Regions from separate parts of the Homo sapiens genome. Here regions 2, 3 and 4 are each linked to region 1. The links are contacts of gene promoters, found by promoter capture Hi-C in blood cells and fetal thymus (Javierre and others, 2016). All regions are on one chromosome and are shown on one strand. Each heading gives the region's core, a stretch centred on a gene start or on the middle of the fragment in contact. The rest is flanking DNA. Distances are from core to core; before and after follow the strand shown. Region 1 holds the start of FAM124B (family with sequence similarity 124 member B). Region 2 overlaps LOC105373909 (a long non-coding RNA gene). Region 3 overlaps WDFY1 (WD repeat and FYVE domain containing 1). Region 4 overlaps SERPINE2 (serpin family E member 2).

Evidence for each region. Contacts are between HindIII fragments. The CHiCAGO score rates a contact against its expected background, and 5 or more counts as called.
Region 2: a contact is called between a fragment that was not itself captured here and the fragment with the promoter of FAM124B in region 1, in 4 of 17 cell types (neutrophils, activated CD4 T cells, naive B cells and 1 more). The highest score is 6.7, in neutrophils.
Region 3: a fragment that was not itself captured here is called in contact with the fragment with the promoter of FAM124B in region 1 in 1 of 17 cell types (erythroblasts); the score reaches 5.7 in erythroblasts.
Region 4: a fragment that was not itself captured here is called in contact with the fragment with the promoter of FAM124B in region 1 in 1 of 17 cell types (megakaryocytes); the score reaches 5.4 in megakaryocytes.

The regions. Positions count from the first base shown.
Region 1 is chr2:224,400,620-224,406,236 of GRCh38, forward strand. FAM124B (family with sequence similarity 124 member B) reads right to left here and starts at 1,488. Exons shown (of 2, transcript NM_001122779.2): 1 at 418-1,488. The coding sequence starts at 1,149. The HindIII fragment of the contact is 5,745 bases long and covers 1-3,695 here.
Region 2 is chr2:224,663,997-224,670,328 of GRCh38, forward strand. LOC105373909 (a long non-coding RNA gene) reads left to right here. Exons shown (of 3, transcript XR_923955.1): 3 at 879-961. Among named protein-coding and RNA genes, the nearest start is that of CCDC195, 49 kb to the right of the region's middle. The HindIII fragment of the contact is 4,645 bases long and covers 921-5,565 here.
Region 3 is chr2:223,936,618-223,942,835 of GRCh38, forward strand. All of the region lies in intron 1 of WDFY1 (WD repeat and FYVE domain containing 1), which reads right to left. Among named protein-coding and RNA genes, the nearest start is that of WDFY1, 5.6 kb to the right of the region's middle. The HindIII fragment of the contact is 383 bases long and covers 1,692-2,074 here.
Region 4 is chr2:223,982,543-223,988,954 of GRCh38, forward strand. SERPINE2 (serpin family E member 2) reads right to left here. Exons shown (of 9, transcript NM_001136528.2): 5 at 2,210-2,408; 6 at 139-239. Among named protein-coding and RNA genes, the nearest start is that of MRPL44, 28 kb to the left of the region's middle. The HindIII fragment of the contact is 6,938 bases long and covers 1-4,719 here.

The DNA.
Region 1 (5,617 bases), core at 238-2,737:
CAAAGGATAGGGGTATAGTTGATGGGCATTTAAACGGCAAGCCTGAGAAAGGAGGCCGATTCTTTAATAGGATTCTGATCTTTATAGTAGAATCCTGTCTGATTCTACTATAAAGTACTTGTGTCAGCTGCAAATTCATGGAATCTGAACTTTCTTATCTGTCAGATGAGATTTTATGAGATCAGTGATTCTCAACCCTGTTACAGATTACAGTCATCCAAGAAGCTGTAAAAAAGTTACCTAGGCCTGGATGTTCCCAGAGATTCGGATCAAACTGCCCTGGGGTGGGAATTTATGAAAGACCCTAAGGGACGCTAATATGCAACCAAGTCTGAGAACCACTAGCTTAGGCCCATTCCGATGTAAAATTACACAGCTCCATGAGCCTCTACAAGATCTGAGACAAAACAGAAATACCTGAAGCAGAATCTTGTTGCCATCGTAGTCCTGAGTCTGCCACCTGGTGCTGCTGATAGGCATGCATGGATTGGGTAGCAGAGGCACTAACTGGCCGATCTCTTGAACCTTAAACTGCAGCACCGAAGACTCTTTGGGGTCCACTGACATTCCCGGGGGCAGCTGCTTCAGGGAGAGCTGCAGAGCAAAGCTCTTGGAGGCATAGAGCACGAAGAAACAAAAATTGCTCTTTTGCAAGGTCGCTTCTCTCTGCAGGATCATCTCGTAGAGTCTGATGGCGTCTTCATAGTTATCAAAACTGCAGTACAGCGTCACCCTCAGGATCTCGGAGCCACAGTGCACCTGCCTCACCCCCCAGATGGGCAGCTGACTGTCCAGGCTGTAGAACTCCTGATTGGCAAAAAAGTAGGGACACAGCCTTCCCCGAGTGTCCTGGGTGGGGTAGCACTGCCATGGCGAATGCTGGAGAGAGTCCAGGACGCGAAATAGCCTATCCTCTCCCGGGCTTTCGTGCAGGAAGAGCAACACGGACATCCCTGGAAACCGGGACCGCTTGGAATGGGACTTTTCACAGTATTTCACAGGACTGGCCCGTTCAGACACCTGAAAGAGCCGGACCTCTGGGCAAATGCAATCCAGGAGCTGGTCCAGAGTCCTCTGCAGAAGGGAGCCGTGCCCAGAGTTGGCAAGAAGATGGACAGTCATGGCCAGAGGCCCCTGTGTCTCATCCATGGAGGAACTGCCTGAGGCTGACAAAGACAGCGTGTGTAGAAGGCCCACTGTTCAAGTTTCTGAAATGAATGAAGAAGCGGCCCAGCCTTCAGCCCGCCTGAAAACCTTCAGCTGCAGCGGCTACTTCTGAGCAGAGCTCTTAACCAGACTAACACGTGCTCCTGGCCACCCGTGGACTTACGGCAAGAGAAGCTCACACCAGCTCGGGTTCAGCAGCCTCCCTCTCCACACAGCAGCAGCGGGGTCACGTCATCCAGCTTGTGCATAATGTAACTGCTTGTGTTTAGCCTTTTCAGGCGTTCCCCAGGGTTTCTGCGTGACCTAAAAACCTATAATCCTGAGAAACACCCAAATGGGCGGCTCTTATAGACACTTAGTACAGGAAATGACCGGCCGAAAAGGAACATGAGTTGGCTCTGTTAGGCTGATAGCAATCTGTTTAGTTGAAAAGACATCCATTTTATCAACTTACAACGGGTTCTCATTTCCTACTTACGGTTTACAGTAGCCTGCTCCACCAATCTGAATACAATGACTTCTTGAAAACAATTCTCAAAACCTGACCCTTTGCCAGTTTTTTTTTTCCTTTGTCTCTTTATTTCATTTTGTTTCTGAACATTTTCTGCTAGGGCACGAAGAGAAGACTTTATCTAAATAATTTTGACTTCACTGAAAATTATTTGCTGTACCGAAAATTCTGAGTGTACTAAAAAGACATTGAGAAAATTAGTCTTCCTTTATTCACGCAAATTCTTTAGAAAGAGTGAGAGCTTTCCTATAATTGCTCATATAATTATAATAATAAATAATTATAATTAACAATTGTAATTATAATTTTTAGTGTCTAATGAGGATCTACTATGTACCAGTCATAAACTGTTCTAATTCTTAAAGTAATTAGTTTTGTTTTGTTTTGGAGATGGAGTCTTGCTCTGTCGCCCAGGCTGGAGTGCAGTGGCGTGATCTTGGCTCACTGCAACTTCCACCTCCCAGGTTCAAGAGATTCCCCTGCCTCAGCCTCCCCAGTACCTGGGATTATAAGTGCGCCAACACGCCCAGCTAATTTTTTTGTATTTTTAGTAGAGACTGGGTTTTGCCATGTTGGCCAGACTGGTCTCGAACTCCTGACCTCAGGTGATCTGCCCGCATTGGCCTCCCAAAGTGCTGGGATTACAGGCATGAGTCACCACACCTGGCCCTTAATGTAAATTAATTTAATCTTGCAACAAACCTATGAAGAAGAGATTACTAGCCCCAAATTACAGATGAAGAAACTGGGGCATAGAAAGGCTAGGTAACTTGCCCAAGGTCTCACAGCTAAGAAGTAGCTGAAGGATGATTTGAACCCAGGAACTTGCTGCACTGCCTCTCTGGGGCCTTGAAGTCCCAGCCTGGGTATTCTTCTTGTAAGGAAAAGATATAAAAGCAAGTTCTGGTTAAGGATCTAGATTTGCAGACTCTTGAGCTGTTGAATCTTAAACGGAATAATCTTCAATGAGAAAGTTGTCAAGCTCTAAACACTCACCCTAAATGTGTTCTAAATATTGATTTAAAAATTATTTGTGGCCACGCATAGTCGTCACGCCTTGATCCTAGTACTTTGGGAGGCCGAGGCGGGTGGATCACCTGAGGTCAGGAGTTCGAGACCAGCCTAGGCAACATGGCAAAACCCCGTCTGTACTAAAAACACAAAAATTAGCCGGGCAAAGTGGAGCATGCCTGTAATCCCAGCTACTCAGGAGGCTGAGGCACAAGAATCACTTGAATCCAGCAAGTGGAGGTTGCAGATCGCACTACTGCACTCCAGCCTGGGTGATAGAGCAAGACTCCGTCTCAGAAAATAAAAAATAATAAAAATAAATAAATAAATAAATATTTTTAAAAAATCATTTGCTCTCCTGATAGCTGTGCTCCTCAACAGGTATGAACAAGCACTTTTTCTAAACACAATTCTTTTTAAAAGAGGCAATTGGACCAGGCGAAGTGGCTCACAACTGTAATTTCAACACTTTGGGAGGCCAAAGCAGGACAATCGCTTGAGCCCAGGAGTTCCAGGCTGTGCTGACCTAAATTCATGCCACTGCACTCCAGCCTGGACAACAGAGCAAGACCCTGTCTCAAAGAAAAAAAATGTACTTCAAAAAGAGCTGTAAAAAATTAAAATAAAAGAGGCAAATTTATGAATCCTTATAATGAAACACAGTGTGACAATTTTTTACATTAAAAAATACTTTTGTGATGAAAAATATAACAACTTTATATATCTGGATTCCTTTAATAGTATAACAACCTAATTTAAAGTAAAATATTATTATCCAAGAAAAGGAGTTATTTCTATTCAGATTCACTATGTAAATCTAACGTACAATTCTAATCATTTGTGTTTCATAATTCCTGTACTTTTTGCATGGGAAAAATACATAAATACAATTTATAACAGAGGAATTGTTTCCTAGTTATTGTGAGCAGCTCAGTAATTAAATTCATCTTGTTTCAACTTTTAAAAAAATCATTAGAGGTTTTTTTTTTTGGCATTACAAATCTCAAGCTTTTTTAAAAAAAACTCGACAGCATTCATGTTATGCATTGGCATTGGAAGCAGATAACTATCTCATCTCTCAGTGTGAACACTCTCCCTTCCGCAACCCTTCCATTCACAGAGCTGATTGTACTTTAGACAAAACTATAGTTTTTGAAATAGGCTTTGAAATTCTGGAAATAACTCTAAAGATTTGAGGAGAAAAATTGTTCCCCTGAAACCACGATATTAACTCACAACATTTTGCACAAGGTAAGTATTAAAGCTCTTACATAGGAAAAGATTTTGTTTCTTGATATTATCTTCCATCTAATGCTGAAAATACACTTTTTTCCTGATGAGGTTGTCATTTCTTTCAGGATTGAAAAGATTTCATTAATCTGTTGGCAGCCAAAGTGCCAACAAATCCAAGGGGCAGGAGGCCAGGGAAGAGGGGGACCAGCCTCATTTCTGACTGGCTGTCTCTGTGATTATTTCCCCAGGAACAACGTGAAATACTGACTGACCTTCCCCAAACTGCCTCCACCTTTGGTCACTGCCTTCCACCCACAACAAATGCCAGATTCTCAGCTGTGCAGCACAACAGTGTTTTAGCATGGTGCTTCTGTTGAAGGCACAGACAAAAATACTAAGGGAAATCATCAGCTTTGACTCTCAGCACCCGGACAGCTGTCACTCCAATTCTCTATCTTATTTTTCTTAAACTTGGCAGGCAATGATGCCCAGGTTTCTGCAGTCATCAGCTCCTGGATGGCAGATGGTTGGTCCACTCCTCACAGCAAATGGAGAGGCTGGTGATGAGTCGCTCAAGCAAACCTAGAAAATCCGAGGCTCCATTGGAACCCATGAAAATCCTCGGGGATTTGTCCTTTCTACAAAATACAATGGGATGCATTATAACCTCGAGATTCCCACCCACCCCCAACCCAGGAAAACTCTGAGAAAAAGTTCCTTTCCATCTTTAATTTATAAAATATGTTTATCTCACATGTCAAGAGCCAGGCGTTGCACCAGGAGCAGAAGATAGAATCGTCACCATCCCCCACTTTGGAGGGGCACCCTAAATGATGCAGTCAGTGCCATGATAAAGGGTGCTGCAGGATGTATGGAGACCCCATGGGGAGACACTGAGTTAGACGAGGGGGCCAGGACTGTCACACACTGGTGCAACTGCAAGCAGTTCAAGGTGGCTGGAGTGGAGGTTCAATGAAGAGGAGGGTGGAAGGAAGCCAGGGGCCTGATCAGGAAGGGCCTTGCAGAACACTTTATTTGAATCTGACCAGAACCACCTAAAAGTCAGTATGAAAAGGGAAGTGATGCTTTGAGGAAGCCACGGACACAGCAAGATATGCAGTCAAAGGACAGGTTTGTTGGCTGGTTGGATGCAGGCAGAAAACCGTGGTGGCTAGTCCAGGAGGCATTCCAGGGTGGTACTTGCAGATGTTTGGGTGAAGCTGTCAGTCACCAGATAAGGAATACTGGAAAGGAGGGCAGTTAGGAGTGAGGATGAGGAGGGCAGGGTGGTTGTGTTGTGCATGGATGCCCGTGGGATGGCCAGAGTTGAGATGTCCAGTGGCCTGTTCACTACAGCTTTGAAGGGAACAGTAAACCAGAGAATAGGAATTGGGGAACTGCTGGTCTTCAGGCAGCCATGGGAAAGGATGTGACTACCCAGAAAGAGAAGACACAACAAGGACAGAAGAAGGAAGAGGATAGGATTCCAGGAGTACCCAGTTTAAGAGACAAGCAATGTTTAAGTGGCACCCAGGGCAAAATGGAGAGTGGAGTGTGTTATGAGGACTTCAGAACATGGCTTTGGCTGGGCAGACAGCATCATTTAGTGTTTCAGGCTAACATTTGTGACTCATTTCCCCTTCTCAATTAGGCAAACTCAAAGAAGCAGCTGTCACCAAGCGAACCTCAGAGCCA
Region 2 (6,332 bases), core at 1,993-4,492, 270 kb after region 1:
ATGGAGGCCATTGTGCCATATGTGCAAATATGTAAAAGTTATAAATCAAGGCACCAAACTGTTATATAAGACATATTGTGTCCTCATCTTCACAATGATTAGAAGGCTTGTTTCAATTTAATTTAATGTATTTATTTGTTTTTGAGAAAGGGTGTCTCTCTGTCACCCAGGTTGGAGTGCAGTGGCATCATGATCATGGCTCCCTGCTGCCTCCATCTCATGGGCTCAAGTGATCCTCCTACCTCAGCCTCCTGAGTAGCTGGGAATACAGAAGCATGCCACCACTCTTGGCTAATTAAAAAAAATATTTAAAAGTTTTTTTTATAGAGTTGTGTCTCACTATGTTGCCCAGGCTGGTCTTGAACTCCTGGGCTCAAGTAATCCTCCCACCTTGGCCTCTCAAAGTGCTGGGATTACAGGCATGAGCCACTGCATGCAGCCCTGGTTTCAGTTTTAGAATTATTGGAATCCTTGGACGTCCCTGCCTCTATGCATCTGTGACTTTCCTTTTCCCATCTGAGCTCCATCTTGCTCTGCAAGAAACCTTCTGCAATGGTTCTCCCCACATCTCACATACATAACTGCTTTTTGGCCACTCTGGTCTCAGTATGAGGAGCCTGGGAAGAGCTTAGGCTCTGGAATCAGGCGTGGGACTCTTTGGGCAGAAGATTCTGAGGTTCTGTATATGTGGATCATGGTTCAGAAGAAGAAAATGTGGGATCCAGGGGAGTATGTCCACTGGGCTTGTAGACTCCTTGGTCTGTGGGGAGAGCCAGTAGCCAGATGAAGGCCAGAGTGGGTTCCTCTAATGTGTGAGGTTCAGTTTTGCAGCCCTTGTTGCTTGAGACCAAAGGCAGTACTGTTTCTGTGGTTCCCAGGTAATGGAGACTTGATTTCCAGCAATCAGAAAAGCCTCACCAAGCTTGCTTATCCTTTCCTACCTGGAGTGAGACCCACACCGTCTCAAAGACAAGGTGAGAAACCATTATATTTGCTTCACCGAGATGGATTTTAGAAAGCCTAAACCATCACTTAACCTCATTTGATCCAGAATATCCCCTCTGAGAAACACTGTGTGTGTGTGGTCTTGAACTCCTGGGCTCAAGTAATCCTCCGACACACATTGGTATGTCCATGCTAACTTAAAGGCTGAGCAGATGCCACCAAATCTTGATGTTCTTTTGTGTCTGCTTATTGCAGTTTCCAATTAGGTGCTCAGGATACTTTTGCCTTGCCCTCCCAAACTGCTGTGGTTATAGGCATGAGCCACTGTGCCTGGCCTAGAATTTTTAACTGTATTCAGTAAGGACTATTTTAGTATCAAGTAACAGAAATTGTACTTAAACTGGACGAAAAAGAATACATATTTCTCTTTTCTCCAGAAAAGAGAAATACATATTGCCCACTTATCTAGAAAGTCAAGCAGTAGTGTTGCAGGCACAGCTTCACCAATAATATGGGGCCCAACGTCACCAATAATATGTCCCTCTCAATTCCCGATTCTGTTTCTCTTCATGTTGGCTTCATTTTTGGGCAAGTTCTCTCTTGTGGTGACAAAGAAGGCATCATGCAAGGTTAGCATCTTCAGGAAAAGCTCATCTTTCACAACAGTTATAATAAAAGGACCAGATTCAATTCTTTTTGAAACATCATGGGTCATGTGCCCCACCCTGAATCAGTCAATGTGGCCAGGGAAATGGGATGCACCTATTGGCTAATTTGAATCACATGCTTCTCTTTAGAGACAGGAGGTTTGTGGGTATGAGGTCGACTCATCTAATCCTGTAACCTAAGTGTTGGGAAAGGGTTAGTTCCTTGAAAGACCAGGCACTGACTTCTAGAGGGTGGCTGGATGTTGGCCAGGCCAAAACAGTAGTTATCTCCTACAAGACTGCAAAATCTAATGGGCTTTAGAGTCTGCCTTTAAAAGTGGGGACAATAAAATGTGCCTTACCTTACTTCACAGGATCAAATTCAATCCCTCAAATGAATTCTAAAAATTATAAAGGATTTTACAAAGGCAAGGTAATGTTATGTTACCTTTCACAGGTGATTTAACTAAAGGAATATGTAGAAAGACATTACTAGGGGCAGGCACGATGGCTCACGCTTGTAATCCCAACACTTTGGGAGACTGAGGCGGGCGGATCACGAGGTCAGGAGATGGAGACCATGCTGGTTAACATGGTGAAACTCCGTCTCTACTAAAAATACAAAAAGTAGCCGGGCGTAGTGGCAGGTGCCTTTAATCCCAGCTACTCAGGAGGCTGAGGTAGGAGAGTCACTGAAACCCAGGAGGTGGAGGTTGCAGTGACCCGAGATCGTGCCACTGCACTCTAGCCTAGGTGACAGATTGAGACTTCGTCTCAAAAAAAAAAAAAGAAAAAAAGGAAGACATTGCTGAAGTGTAAAGCATACCCAGTTTTCTTTATCTTACCATATATTGACCGCAATGTAATTTTGAAGGAGTTTGGAGAATATTTCTTCGAGTTTTACAAAAGGTCAGACTCTGATCATATGCTGATGACCCTAACTAGAAATTTCTACAACTTTATAGAAAACTTGCATGCATTACATATGCATGCATAGTTAGATGCATATATAGTTCCTTAACTGCATTAGTCAGAGTTCTCCGGAGAAAGAGCACCAGTAATATACATATGGATATATATATATACATTTTTATTTATTTATTTTTTTTGTGAGACAGAGTCTCGCTCTGTCACCTAGGCATTGGTTCATGAGAAATTGGTTCATGCAATTATGGAGCCTGAGAAGTCCCACAATCTGCCATCTGTAAATTGGAGACCCAGGAAAGCCAGTGGTACAATTCAGTCAGAAGGACGGAAAACAGGAGAAATAATTATGTAAATCACGTTCTGAGGGCCAAGAAGCTGAAATGAGGTGTCCGAGCTCAGCAGAGCAGGGCAAATTTCTCCTTTCTCCACTTTTTCTTTTATTTAGGCTCTCAATTGATCAGATGATGCCCATATACATGGGAAGAGCAGTCTACTTCAATGAGTCCACTGATTCAAATGCTAATTGCATCTGGAAATACCCTCCCAGATACACTCAAAAACAATGTCTAATCTGGGCACCCCATGGCCAGTCAAGTTGATACATAAAATTAACCATAACACCTGTCTTTGTCATATTTGGGTGATCAGCCAGCCAAGAAATGACATATTTTGAGAGCTTTCAGAGTTGCAGAGTCACTAGAGGGTTAATGGTAATGCAAATACCTTAGCTTTCACATCCTGTCTTTGATAAGAGTTTACGTTTTCAGCAAATAATCTGTGAAGTGGCTAATTTGCTGGGGGATAATGAGAATAGATAGTTACTCTGAAAATTGCTCTTACGCAATTCTACTTACTTTTTAATGGTGTCTCTTTTCTTTGTAAGAAGTGCCATATTTTGGGACAACATGGGGAATTTAATCATTAAGTTAAACAATAAACCCTTTAAACTACCTTAATTTCTTTTTTTTTTTTTAGATGGACTCACTCTGTCACCCAGGCTGTAGTGCAGTGGCACAATATTGGCTCACTGCAGCCTCCGCCTCCCGGGTTCAAGCAATTCTTGTGCCTCAGCCTTCTGAGTAGTTGGGATTACAGGCATAAGCCACCATGCGTGGCTAATTTTTGTATTTTTAGTAGAGATGGGGTCTCGCCAGGCTGGTCTGGAACTCTTGACCTCAGGTAATTCACCCACCTTCGCCTCCCAAAGTGCTGGGATTATAGGCATGAGCCACTGCACCCGGCAAACTACCTTAACTTCTAAGAGAGTCAACAATTCTATTAGTTGAATTATACGTAAGTAAATAAAACCTTGAAACAATGGAAAAACCCTTATACAAAAGGCAAACAATTAGAAAAGACTCAGTACCCTGGGGCCTAAGTAATATAATTAAAAGCAGGATTTTAAAAAATAAGTTTCTTTCTAAAAGCAGAGAAAGCACCAAGGTGATTGCTTTGTTTCCCACAGCTTTCAGACCCTGAGTGCATTGGTAAGGTTTTCCTAATTGCTATATTTCTTATATTTTGTAAAATAAAGAAAACACAGATCATTTATCTTTCTAGTATACAAGAACCATTTTGAAAGGGCCATTTCTCTTGTTTAAATGATAATTATATGTCATAACCTATAGTAAAGGTAGAAAGGAGGCTCACACTCCCAGTGTTTCAGGAGACAATGGAATAAAACTAGTTAAGATGTCATTGTTAAGACATAATAGTAATCAGTTAAGATGAGGTCATACTAAAGTAGGGTAGGCCTCTAATCCAACATGATTGTTGTCCTTACAAAAGGGGGAATTTGGACACGGACAGTCTCATGGGGAGAACACCATGTGAAGATGAAGGCAGAAATCTACAAACCAAGGAGTGTCAAAGACTGCTAGCAAACCACCCAAAGCTCGGAGAGAGGCATGGAACAGATTCTCCCTCACAGCCCCCAGCAAGAACCAACCCTGGCAACCTCTTGATCTCAGACTTGTAGTTCTAGAATTGTGAGATAATAAATTTAGTTTGTGGTACTTTGTTATGTCAGCCTGAACAAAGTAATTATGGTCCTCATTTTATAAGTGAAGATTCTGAGGCTCATAAAGATAAACTTGTCTGACGTCAAGCAGCCAGGACAGAGCTGGGGCTGGACTCAGGTTACTCCAAACATTGTGTTTTAAACCCCTGCATCGTTTTCCAAAACTGATCCAAGGACCTCTTGCATAAAAATCACCCGGGATGCTTATTAAAAATGCAGATTCAGGCCGGGTGCGGTGGCTCTTGCATGTAATCCCAGCGCTTTGGGAGGCCGAGATGGGTGGATCACCTGAAGTCAGTAGTTCGAGACCAGCCTGGTCAACATGGTGAAACCCTGTCTCTACTAAGAATACAAAAATTAGCCCGGCGTGGTGGCACATGCCTGTAATCCCAGCTGCAAGGGAAACTGAAGCAGAAGAATTGCTTGAACCCACGAGGCAGAGGTTGCAGTGGGCCGGGATCACACCACTGCATTCCAGTATGGGCAACAGAGCGAGACTTCATCTCAGGGAAAAAAAAAAAAAAAGAAAAAAAAAGCAGGTTCAGGGATTCAACTCAGACCCGCTGAATATGAAACTGGGGAAAGGTGGCAAGAGACTGAATTCTAAAAAAGAAACAACTCTAAATGAAAACTGTTAACACTCATTTTGCTTCTGAATTAGAGTCCCTCAACCCCCTCACTATGGTCTGCTGAAATTGAGGTGATTCTAGCACTAAATGAGAAATATTTATGTGTTCATCAGTTAGAATTTGGGCAAATTTTTGTCTGGACTTCAAATTTTGCTATTTTTTTCCCCCAGTGATGATAATAAAATATACCGTATCTTATCTCCCATAATCAAATTAAATCTTTTGAAAATGAAAGTTAAAACTTATAAACATTTTAGAAATGCAAGGGAATATTATGAAGTATCTTTATTCAGATCATCTAATTAACAGACTATGGAGGAAGATATTACTTCAATGTAATTCCTACCCATTTCTCTTGAAAAATAAACGCTGAGTTATCAGTGGTTTTATTCTGGAAAGCTTTGCTTTGTTTCTACCACAACTAATGCTCTGCCTGTGTGGTGGGGCAATTCCTAGCATCCTCCTCTCTGTTGAATCATCTTCTTCTCTTACATGATCATGCATTGTACTTCTATGCAAGCTTTGCTCATATTTTCCAAGTGTAAGGAGAACCTGATAATGCAGAGGGCTCATTTTCTTGATTATGTCATTGTTGTTGACTCCTTCAGATGGAGAATAATTAATGGTGTATACATATATATAATTTATATCACCACTATATATATAAATATAATTTATATATAATTTATATCACCATTATATATTTATATAAAATATATAATATATAAAAATATATTATATATAAATATATAAAAATATATTATTTAAATATATAAATATATAAAAATATATTATTTAAATATATAAATATATAACATATATAAAGATTTATATATAAATATGTTAAAATATATTATATATTTATATGTAAATATATAAAATATATGTAAATATATAATATAAAATATATATTTACATATAAATATATCAAAATATATTATATGTTTACATATAAATATATCAAAATATATGTTTACATATAAATATATCAAAATGTATGTTTACCTATAAATACATCAAAATATATGTTTACACATAAATATATCAAAATATATATTTACATATAAATATATCAAAATATATATAATGGTTATATTTATATATAAATATATATAAAGGTGATATAAATTATATATGTATACAATTTTTATACAACTTTTTACA
Region 3 (6,218 bases), core at 633-3,132, 460 kb before region 1:
GAAAGTCTTGCTTGCAAGGTTGGCCCTTGGCAGGTGTCTGGGACCTTGTTTATCCAGAGGGGACCTCACCATTCCCTAACTCCTAAGAATGGCTCACTGTGCTTCATGCCTGTATAAAATATGTGGTTTATGTTGACCACCTACCTTCCTTCTGAGAGTTTGGAATTTTGGAACATTAGCCAAGGGCACCTACATGACCAGCCTCTAACACTGAATAAAGTCTCTAAGGAGCTTCCCTGATAAACAATATTTCACACATGTTGTCTTAATTCAATCTGAATTAGCCTGTCCTGTGACTCCACAGGAAGAGGACTCTTGGAAGCCTTGTGTCTGGTTTCCTCTGGATTTCACCCCATGTGCTGATTTTGTTTTGCGTCTTTTGGCTATGATAAATCACAGCCATGCGTATGACTATAATGTGTCAATCTTTCTAGTGAATCAATGAACCCGATCTTGAGGATCTCAAATATAGCAGGGGAAAGATGTCTAAGTGAAACTAATCACTGACATGACCTGCAAGTAACCAAATATGGAAATAAAGAAAAGGCATGACTCAAAGGCAGTTCTAAGAATTTAGGATTGTAAATAACCCCTCAAATGGTATTGTCCTATTCAAACAGGAAAAATTTTTTTATTTTCACTTATTCACGTGCACACACAAACATGCATACAAAGTAGAAACATATTACTCTTTCGTAAGATTAAAGTAACAAAATGCAAAATAAGTGGAAATGAAAATAATAATAGCTAACACTTGTATAGTGCTTTCTCTGTCCCAGTCTTTAAGATTAAAGCAATTAAATGGAAAATAAATGGGAATGAAAACAATAACAACTAACACTTGCATAATGTTTTCTCTGTGCTAGGCACTGTTCCACGTGGTTTAATTCACCTAATCCTCACAAAACTCTGTAAAGCAGGTACAAAACGGACTCATGTCCATTTTGCACATGAGAAAACTGTGATACAGTGAGGTTAAATAACTTGTCTAAGATCACAGGGCTGGGATTCAAACTGAGGCATTCTGGCTCCCAAGCCTTTGTTCTTAACTATGCTATAAAAAGAAAATGATTGTAACAATGAAGGATCACCCTAACAATACAGGAGTAAATGTGTGGGGTGGCCACCCAGGCTTCCTGCCTTCTCAAGTCTTCAGTTTATTTTATAACACAAATTAAAGTCTACTTTTAGGCTCTGCATGACAATGAAAATACAGCAGTTAACATCCTGGTTTTCTGTATTAACTAATGAATTCCAGCTATGCCAGCCTTCCTCCCAGGCATAACACTTAAAAATCAAGTTATTTATTTAAGATTGTTTCTATGTGAACAATTGGTAAATACACAAATTTTTCCCCAAACCATCTTAATAAACTTAGATATATCTAAGTGGAAGCAAATATATTACATATTTGGTATAATTTTTAAAAAAGGAAAATGCTAAAAAACATCTAAAAGTTGGTTTTCTGTAATCTTTACTCTTTCCCAGCCTAAGTGCAACATCTCAAAACATTTTAAATCACATGAGATTTATCTTTAACTTGGGACAAACAAAATTGAGTTTCCTGCAGAAACCAATCTTGGCCTACGAGCCCCTAATGCAACAGTATAAGTACGTCCATCCACAAACTCTATTTCTCAAAAGTGAAGACAGTAGGCCTATAGCCTTAACTTATTTATAAGGCTTTATAAAGCTTTTACCTTTTAAAAATTGTATCATTCAATCAACTGACTGTCTACATTTTTGGTGCAGTCCACAGCAAAAAAGTCCAAAAAGCAAACATACTGGTTCCTACTGTCTCACCATTTTAGTTCCGCTCTGAAAGCAGAGTCTTATTTTCTGTTTCCCCTACCAGGAAAGTCACCACTGTAGTTCAAATTCTTAAACTTAAATTTAAATTAAAGAGCTTAAGGTAATTATTACTTCAGCAAAATACTAATGACTTCATACAAGAAGTAGTACCATTTTCTATTAACCATTCACGAGACATTAATCCATAAAGGTTTCTAAGCAGAACCCTAAGCTGACCACCCAAACCACTAATGACCTGTGACTCCCAGGTGTAATGGCATTAAGCTTTGATATTCCACATTGGCTTAATACTCTTTGGAGTGCTGACCGTATCTAGCTTTGTCATATGCAGTTTGATTACAGTGAACTAGGTGGCTATCTGTGAATGACCCCAGGTAAATATATCCCAGAAGGTGACAAAAAAAAAGAGGATAAAATGTAAGCAGTATTTTTTTTTTTTTTTTGAGACAGGGTTTTGGTCTGTCACCCAGGCTGGAGTGCAGTGGCACGATCTCAGCTCACCTCAACCTCCGCCTACCGGGCTCAAGTGATCCTCCCGTCTCAGTCTCCCAAGTAGCTAGGATTACAGGTGCACACTACCATGCCTGGCTAATTTCTGTATTCAGTATTCTTTCTTGGTGGTTGTACATAGGCAAGCACAGTGACAAATAACCCTCCTTTCTTGTAGAGCCGTGGTTCTAAGTGTGGTCCCTGGACTAGCAGCATCAGCATCAACGTCACCTGGAAACTTGGCAGAAATGCCAACTCTCAGGCCCCACCTGACTTTCCAAATCAGAAACTCTGGGGGTGGGGTCCAGCAACCCGAATTTCAACAAGACCCCCAGGTGATTCTGATGCACATTCAAGTTAAGGAACCAGTGTTCTAGAGAGGCCAGATAAGTACATGAAGCCCGGACTGGGGTTTCTCAATATCAGCACTATTGACATTTGGGGCTCAATAATCCTTTGGTGTGGGGCATAACAGGATACTGAGATGCATCCCTACCCTCTACCTAGATGCCAGTATTAGTTACATACAGTATTAGTCCGTTTTCACACTGCTGATAAACACATGCCAGAAACTAGGTAATTATAAACAAAATGAGATTCAATGGACTCACAGTTCCATGTGGCTAGGGAAGCCTCACAATCATGGTGGAAGGCAGAAGACATGTCTTACATGGTAGCAGACAAGAGAGAAATAGGAACCAAGCCAAAGGGGTTTTCCCTTGTAAAACCATCAGATCTCCTGAGACTTACTCACTGCCACGAGAACAGTATGGGGGAAACTGCCCTCATGATTCAATTATTTCCCACTGGGTCCCTCCCACAACACATGGGAATTATGGGAGCTACAATTCAAGATAAGATTTGGGTGGGGACACAGCCAAACCATATCACCTCCCCCACATCATGACAACCAAAAATGTCTCCAGATATTACCAAATGTTCCCTGGGTGGGAAAACCACCCCTGGCCCAGAACCACTGGCCTAGATTTTACAAAAGTGGATACTAACTTCAGGAAAACCTTCATACCTTTCACTTTTCTTCTCAAAATGCTCTCAGCTAGTTCTCACTGCTTTTAGCGTTTGTAAAATGAATTCACTTCAGCTGGACCCTACTTTAAATGTAAAAAGCTACTGGCTCATGCCTGTAATCCCAGTACTTTGGGAGGCCGAGGCGGGTGGATCACGAGGTTTGGAGTTCAAGACCAGCCTGGCCAAGACGGTGAAACCCTGTCTCTACTAAAAATACAAAAGTTAGCTGGGTGTGGTGGCGGGTGCCTGTAATCCCAGCTACTCGGGAGGCTGAAGCAGGAGAATCGCTTGAACCTGGGAGGCAGAGGTTGCAGTGAGCCAAGATCATGCCACTGTGATGCATGCAGTAAATAAAGATTACAAACAGTCTCATTTGTTCAGGCCAAATTTTAGCACCAAACGAGTTTTCAGGTCCAATTTACACACACACATACACACTTCTGACGTTTAGAATGCACTAAATTTTGGAACTGCTGATAAGAGAAGGTGACTGTACCTACCTTATAGGGAGGAAGTGTGAGGATTGGATCCAATAACACATAAGGTCCAATTCTGTACTCGTAGAGAAAAGGGACTTTCAACAGGTTAGCTATTGTTATTTCTAAATTACAAATTCCGATCATATCATTTGCTTGTTTTGAACTCTTTGATGGTTCTACACTGCCTGCAAAATAAGGTCCAAATTCCTTATTTCTTTCTTTTTTTTTTTTTTGAGACAAAGTTTTGTTCTTGTTGCCCAGGCTGGAGTGCAGTGGCGTGATCTCAGCTCACTGCAACCTCCGCCTCCCAGGTTCAAGTGATTCTCCTGTCTCAGCCTCCCAAGTAGCTGGGACCACAGGTGTGTGCCACCATGCCCAGCTAATTTTTGTGGGTTTTTTTGTTTTTGTTTTTTGAGACAGAGTTTCACTCTTGTTGCACAGGCTGGAGGGCAATGGCATGATCTCGGCTCACTTCAACCTCTGCTTCCTGGGTTCAAGTGATTCTCCTGCCTCAGCCTCCCAAGTAGCTGGGATTACAGGCATGTGCCACCACGCCCAGCTAATTTTGTATTTTTAGTAGAGATGGGGTTTCTCCATGTTGGTCAGGCTGGTCTCAAACTCCTGACCTCAGGTGATCCACCCGCCTCGGCCTCCCAAAGTGCTGGAATTACAAGTGTGAGCCACTGCACCCAGCCAATTTTTGTATTTATAGTAGAGATGGGGTTTCACCATGTTGGCCAGGCTGTTCTTGAACTCCTAACCTCAGGTGATCTGCCTGCCTTGGCCTCCCAAAGTGCTGGGATTACAGTCGTGAGCCACCGCACTTGGCCCCCAAAAACTTTTTTTTTTTAATTTAAAAAACAAAACAAAACCGGACACTGGGTCCTTCTAGCTCTCAGTCTTCTCTGTTGCTATTGTCACTGCCCACCTTTTGCTCTGGTCACTTAGAAATAGCTATGGTTCTTTCCCTCTTACAATTCCCTCCTGTCCTTTCCTCCTTCCTCTGCCTGGGATGAGGGTGCATCCCTCCTTCCTTTCTAGATGCCACTCCTCTATCCATGAAGACCAGCTCAACGACCTTCTCTAGGAGGCTGTCCCCAAACCCCGGCCCCAGCCCAAAGAGCCTCCTCTTCCTGTGTCTTCCCAGCACTGGATGCTGAATACATAGGGGCCATCTCTTCACTAGACTGTTCAGCCCTTGGGAAAGAGCAACTTAGCTGTCAGCTGTCTCTCCCCCACAGGTCTAGCATGGGCCCCACACACGTGCTGGGATTACAGGCGTGAGCCACCTTGCCTGGCCAAGGTAGTGTGGCTTTTGACCCCTGTTGTGTCCTCAGGGCCTGACACTCAATAAAAAAGCTTTTTCTAAATGAATGAGTAAATGAGTGAAGAACGTGACACGTATTTATGACAATGTGAAAACAAACCACCATGGCTAACACCAAGAAAAAACCCACGCCCATGTGCTTTCATTACATCTCATGAAGTGTAGCACCTACTAAAAAGGTTGTTCTCCCTTCAAGGAAGTTGCAAGAGCCTGAACACAACAGAAACCTCAAACGCCAACCCCATCCTGGTCCAGTCATCTACCTGGGCTCTGCAATAACAGTGGTGCACGAGTGAAAAAGTGAGCAGATGCAAGCTCCCCCAGAACGTTTCAGTCCCAGAGCAGCTTAGTAATCACTTTCCAAAAACATTTATCAGCACTGCTCCTGACCAGCAATCTCAAATATTTAGCAACTTACCCAAAACGCATGATTCATGAATAAAATATTTGACCGAATAAAGGCTGCTAACTTTTTTTTTTTTTTGATACGGAGTCTGGCTCTATCGCCCAGGCTGGAGTGCAGTGGCACAATCTTGGCTCACTGCAAGCTCTGCCTCCCAGGTTCACGCCATTCTCCTGCCTCAGCTTCCCGAGTAGCTGGGACTACAGGCGCCTGCCACCACACCTGGCTAATTTTTGAATTTTTAGTAGAGACTGGGTTTCGCCGTGTTAGCCAGGATGGTCTCGACCTCCTGACCTTGTTATCCACCCGCCTCGGCCTCCCAAAGTGCTGGGATTACAGGCATGAGCCACTGCGCCTGGCCAAAGGCTAACTTTTTTTTTTTTTTTTTTTGAGACGGAGTCTCGCTCTGTCGCCCAGGCCGGACTGCGGACTGCAGTGGCGCAATCTCGGCTCACTGCAAGCTCCGCTTCCCGGGTTCACGCCATTCTCCTGCCTCAGCCTCCCCAGTAGCTGGGACTACAGGCGCCCGCCACCGCGCCCGGCTAATTTTTTGTATTTTTAGTAGAGACGGGGTTTCACCTTGTTAGCCAGGATGGTCTCGATCTCCTGACCTCATGATCCACCCGCCTCGGCCTCCCAAAGTGCTGGGATTACAGGCGTGAGCCACCGCGCCCGGCCC
Region 4 (6,412 bases), core at 1-2,500, 420 kb before region 1:
TTTGGCAATGTATCAAATGAAACCTTGTACAGTTTCAGGGCAACACATTCCTAATTCTGATCCTTTTTCTCTGCACAAATCAGTCTCAGTTTGTAACACTTTCTTCAAGTATACAAATACATTTTAAATTGAACATACTTGTTATTTTTGCAAAATTTGCCTTTGATGAATCAAACATGTCAGTAATGCCAAGAACTTTCAGCGGCTCCTTCAAATCTGTTTGTGCTACAGCTGTGAACCTAGCATGAAAGCAGAAATGGAGAAAAAAAATCACGAGGCTATAAATGCTACATGATAGAGTCGGTGCATGTTTACAAACTGATTCTTTTAAAGTTAATATCTGAATACCGATCTGAATTGCATCTTAAATTTGAATTCCAAATTTAAATACCAGATAAGTAAAGGACAACTCCTCTCTCAAACACTTAGCTGGCAAAATGAGTCATATGTACTAACGGCAAGAATAGGCGCTCCCACCCTCAGGTGTAATGGGCCCCCTGTTCCAATACTTAGGAAGATCTACAAACATACTTTCTTTTATACTGACGTGGAGGTTGAGTGTTAACAAGTTCCTAGTACTCTGGAATATCTATTATTCTTCCCCATATCCAACTAAAGTTCTCCATATCCATCTTGGCTGCTCTAAGACCTGCCATCCTTATTGGGATTGGAGATGGTCAAAAGAGAGGAGAAACATTCCTGATAGTTCATTTTGGGATTCTTTTTTTTGAGACAGAGTCTTGCTCTGTGGCCCAGGCCAGAGGACAATGGTGCAATCTTGGCTCACTGCAACCTCTGCCTCCTGGGTTCAAGCAATTCTCCCGCCTCAGCCTCCCAAGTAGTTGGGATTACAAGCACCCACGACCATGCCTGGCTAATTTTTTATATTTTTAGTAGAGACGGGGTTTTTCCATGTTGGCCAGGCTAGTCTGGAACTCCTGACCTCGTGATCCGCCCACCTCGGCCTCCCAAAGTGTTGGGATTACAGGTGTGAGCCACCACGCCCAGCCCCTTTTGAGATTCTGAAAGTATTTTACTATTAAAACAGGAGCAAAGATTAGGCATAGGTGACACGGTATTATATTTGGGTATAATATAGGTTTCTTGAATATTTGTGACCTACTTGGCCTTGGGGATATATGGAGATATATGCACACACACACACACACACACACGTATATATATGTGTGTATATGTGTGTGTGTGTGTGTGTGTGTGTGTGTAAATGTCAGTTACTGTCATCAGAGGATGCTTTATCAGATTTGATCTCATCCTGTGGAAGAGCACTAAGGAGACGTGGGCAGATTCTCACCACAGATGGGCTATAATGGTAAAGAACCTGTTCTTCACCCATTGAGGCCTACGATGCCACCATCTTATTTATTTATTTATATCAAGCATTGCCTACTTGAAGGCTTATTTTACAAAAAAAAAAAATCTTGAGAGAATTAGTAATACTTATTGTGAATGTCTTACTCTGATTACTTAACTCGGTGACCAAAGAATCAAAAGCTATTAGAACTCTCCACTACCACCAAGACCTGGGTTGTTAAAAGCTCTGGATGGTGGGAAGGCAGCAATGTTGAAAAGTTCATAGAAAGGGAACAACATTCATTGCTTCTTCACAGTTCTGGACAAAGCATTCTCTGACCTGTTAGAACATGAAGATTCATACAGGATTTGGGGTTACTTTTCCCATGGCTTCAAGTCATAACAGCTCAAATTCCATCTTTGTCTTACTCTTAGGGTATAATAGAAAAACTGGCTGCCTTGGTCTTCATGAACTTCTAGTTAAATAAATAAATAACTAAAATGAAGCTCCTTATGAAAGCACATGGAGTTCTATTAAACCTCACTGTACTTTCATCCATACTATGATGACACACGTGTGTTTTCAGTCTTTTAAATACAATGAGATATGTCAAAAAGCCCCTGCAGTACCATGAACTGCTTATGCTCATGTGGAGGTTTAGAGACCAAGGTTGCCCTCTCTCCTTTCTTATGATCCATATCTTACCATACAGGAAGCACAGGCATTGAATAAAAGCGTTTAGAAAAGCACGGCCTCGTAATCCCACCATGAAATTTCTGCAGAACAGAACAGGCTTCATGATGTGCCATATTTTCGCCTCATGTTGTCTGGTGTCCGACATAACACCTGCTGATTGAATAATGCCACTGTTTTCTTTGAGGGGAAGGGGCCACTTACTTGGGCAGGATCACCTGCACCCTCTTGGGCACCATGATGCTCATCCAGCTGTCTATGGTCTTGGTGCTGATGTGTGGGATGATGGCAGACAGCGGAGTGGAGCTCTCAGTCGGCAGTGCAATCAGCATGCTGATGCTTTCCCCGTGGTAGGGCAGTTCAATGAAGTTGTACCATAAATCATTGGGGGCACTTGTCGACCCTAAAGAAATCAGAAGCAGGTTCAGTGTATCCTTGTTGACTTCTAGAAGCAGGATGAGTGCTTGCTGGTCACCGGGATAGCTTCAGAGAGCAACTCAGTTGGAGAACTTCCCTTTTCCACAAATAGCTTCCTTAGAAGGACAAAGACAAGGACAATTATTTCTTCCTTCCCCAGTGAAGAATTCTCCTTTCTTCAGTCTAGACAGAATGCCTTTGGGAATCACTGAAATCACTTTAATTCTGTTAAGGAGAATTTAACTAAATCACAAAGTGCTTAAAATTCAGTGCTTTGCAAGAAGTTGACCCTCACATGAATAAAAGAATACATTCAAGCTGCCTTAGAATCATTCCTTTTTTTTTTTTTTTTAAATAAAGTGTATTGTGTATATTAAGGTACACAATATGACGTTATGGGATACATATAGATAGTAAAATAGTTACTATGAAAAAGCAAATTAACATATCCATTATCTCACATAATTACCCATTTTGCTGTTTTTGGGACAAGAGCGGCTAAAATTTACTCATTGAGCAGGAATCCCAACATGGTGCAATTTTATTACCTCTAGTCCTCATTTTGGATAAGCCTACATGTGCAGGTGAAGAGAGACAGGGATACAGAGCATCCACAGGGCTCACTCTGTGCCAGGCCCATATCAACCCTTCAACAGGCTGAGGATCTACAGCACCTCACGGGGTAGGCGTAAGCAGTGCTATTTTGCAGTTGAGAAAGCCACCTTTAGAGAAATGAAGTAACCTCCAAAGGATGCACGGCTAAGAAGTGAGGAGCCAGGAGAGTCTAATGCCAAGGATTGTCTTCCTCCTACTTCACCACCCTGCCCTATTCACTCTTCACCCATTCCAGTAATCACCACTGGAGTTTTAGATACTTTATGGTACTTCTACTTACTAATGAAAACCCAAGAATAATTTAAGCCAGCATTTCTCAAATGTTATTTGGAGAACAGTCTACCTGCAAGATGCTCTATAGACAAAACAGATTCCACATCTTAGGGAGTTCAGCAAACAAGAAGAGAGAAAGCAAGTTTCTTGCACGATTTTCACTGATCTTTTCTTTGGAGATGACATGTGCCAATCACTGCCTTTGAGACAGGGAACTTCAATATGCCAGTTCTCCATAGAACAGGGTTGGGAGGGATGGACAGAGGGAGAGATGAAGAGAAAGATACCAAGAGAGGGAAAGAGAGTGTACTTGATGAACACTGAAATATCATAAAAATACTGAGGTTATTAGAATATATGGCACCACAGGATGACACTACAGTTTTTCCCTAAGGAAGAAACAACATAGAGAACTGGCAGAGGAACTGGGGCTCTCCTGGTCCTAGCACACTGCATTTCCTGCAGGGCTGTTCAGTAACCCGGGTGCAGCTCGCCTCAGCTCCCATGTGTGTTGAACTCTCACCCAAGCCTGGCTTCTGTCTTGCGGCAACCTAAGAATGAAAGAGAGGATTCTTCGTCTTTACTCTTAGCCTGCATAACAAAATGGTCTCAGCAGAAACGGAAAAATCAATGGGAAAGTGAGAAAAAAATCACTTCCTAATGAGCTCTTTAATCCTTGAAGAAAACATTAAATCTCTATTCTGGCGGAGCTAATTTTCAGAAACTGTGAAATATGGGAAGTGGTTAATAAGTGATTGCTCCAGGGCATGAAATAAGGACCTGGAGGTGTTAACTGCTTCTAGAAATGTTTACTATTTCTGTTAAGGAGGATTGAAGTAATGAATAATGAAAAGTTATGAGCTGGAATGTGTTCAAGGGAGGAGAGAGATCATCTAGCTTCACCAGTTAATCCATCCTTGGCTGGACCCATTATTAACTGATCAGTAATATTAATAACCATGAACCGCATCCAGTCACCTCTGCTTGATGACTGATTTCCCCCCACTCCTTCTGCTTCTGACCACAGAAGCTGATGACCAGTGGTAGCCAGGGTGCATCAGACATACGCATGCTTACCTTTATTTGGTGCCTTGAGGAGCTGGGAGATAAAATAACACCTTTTCTGTCTTTCTACCTGGTCACTCAAGTACTGCATCCTTTTATAGAGGACACGTGCCAAAGCCACGAGATCTGGGGTTATAAGACCTGTATTCAAATCCTGCACTTGTAGCACACTAGCTCTGAGACTTTGGCAAGTTCCTTGACTCCAAGTCTTAGTTTCTTTATCTGTAAAAGCCTACAATAATAGCACCTACTTTACAGAGCTATGAAAATTCATTGAGACAACACATACAAAGTGCTCAGCATAAGCTGGCCCATAGCAAAAACTGCCGTCTTTTGATGTAAGAAGCTTTGTAAAATACCTCACTTCTTGCAATGTGAGGTCCCTGCTCACAGTCTAAACACAAAATCGGCCCACCCAGGTAAACTACATGGAATATTACGTAGCTGATAAAAGCACAACTCCCAAGCAGAATGAATCAAGTAAGGAAGGGGACTTGGGAGCCTTGTGTCAGAGCATGGAGCCTCTCATCGTCCCAGAGCTTTTCCCTTTAAAATCCCCTACCCGATGCTCTCTATTCTTTAACCTCTGGAAGGCAGACTGAGTATTCTTTAACAAGGGTCATTTCTGCAGTGTATAAAAACGTAAGTATAATAGGTTGATTCATTCTGAAAAGGAGCGGAGGTGAAAAAGAGAAAATAAGGATTTTCTCTTAGATGAATGGTGGTCAACAAAACTTCTAATGGGAGACAATAAGTGAAGAATCAAGCATTAAAAATGTGGAGGAGATTTAGAACTTTCTCTAAGTGGTGTTTTGGGTGACCCAGTTTTTCCAGAAAGCCCCTGAAGTAATCTGATTTCCACTTTAAGTGCTACTAGGGAAGACGTAACTAGGCTCACTGAAATGTTAAGAGCTCACACTGTAAAATCAAAGAGGGTATCTTAAATATTTAATATCAGGAAACCTTTATAGATGAAAGTCCCTCTAATTACCTTCTACTACAAGTAAATATGGATTTCCTGAGGACTTAAGAAACTTTTTAGACTGCACTTTAGTAGAAATTGAAATGGATATTTTGGAAAAACAACAGCAAAATGCTCCATCGTGTGCAATACTCTACATTCTAGGCTGGAGTCCAAAGGGAGTTCGGGGACAGTAGCTGGGGAAGGAGGGGTGGCGTAAGTAACTGGGTGAGTATTGGTGCCATTTGCTGCTAAGGAACGATGGGTTGAGAACTAAATGGGCAAGGGCAATACATATATTTATTTACTGAGACAGGGTCTTGCTCTGTTCCCCAGGCTGGAAAGCAGTGATGTGATCAGGGCTCACTGCATCTCAACATCCTGGGCTCAAGTGAACCCCCGACCTCAGACTCCCAAACAGCTGGGACCACAGGTGAGCACCACCATGCCTGGCTAATTTTTAAACATTTTTTTGTAGAGACAGGGTCTCGCTATGTTGCCGAGGATCATCTTGAACTCCCAGGCTCAAGCCATCCTCCTGCCTCAGCTTCCCAAAGTGCTGGAATTACAGGTGTGTGCCATGGTGCCTTGGCATAAATGAGTTTCATCTATGCAACTAGAATTTAGTAGGCAACCAAGTTAAGACGTAATGTGAACAGACAGGTATGAGTTAGAAACTCAGGAGAAAAGAAGATGGAAATATAAATTTGTTATTCTTCATGTTTTTTTTCCAAAATAAAGTCTCAAATGTCTAAATTCATAACCATAAAACATTTGTAACAACTATGACTTGGAGATTCCTATTCCATTCCTATTCCTATCCCAGGAAATTACCTTTAGAAATTTACTGATGCAAATATTGAAAAACCTATGTACAAGAATACTCACTGCAGTGTTGTTATAGGAAAAAAGCAGATGGCTTTCCATAGGATAGCATGATACATTTGTATTATGGAATATTATGTGGCTGATAAAAGGATCAAGTAAATCCTTATGAATTGGCACAAAAAGTTGTCCACTCTCTAATGAAAGCAGATTATAGAACAGAAACTACAGTACAATCCTATGTATGTAAA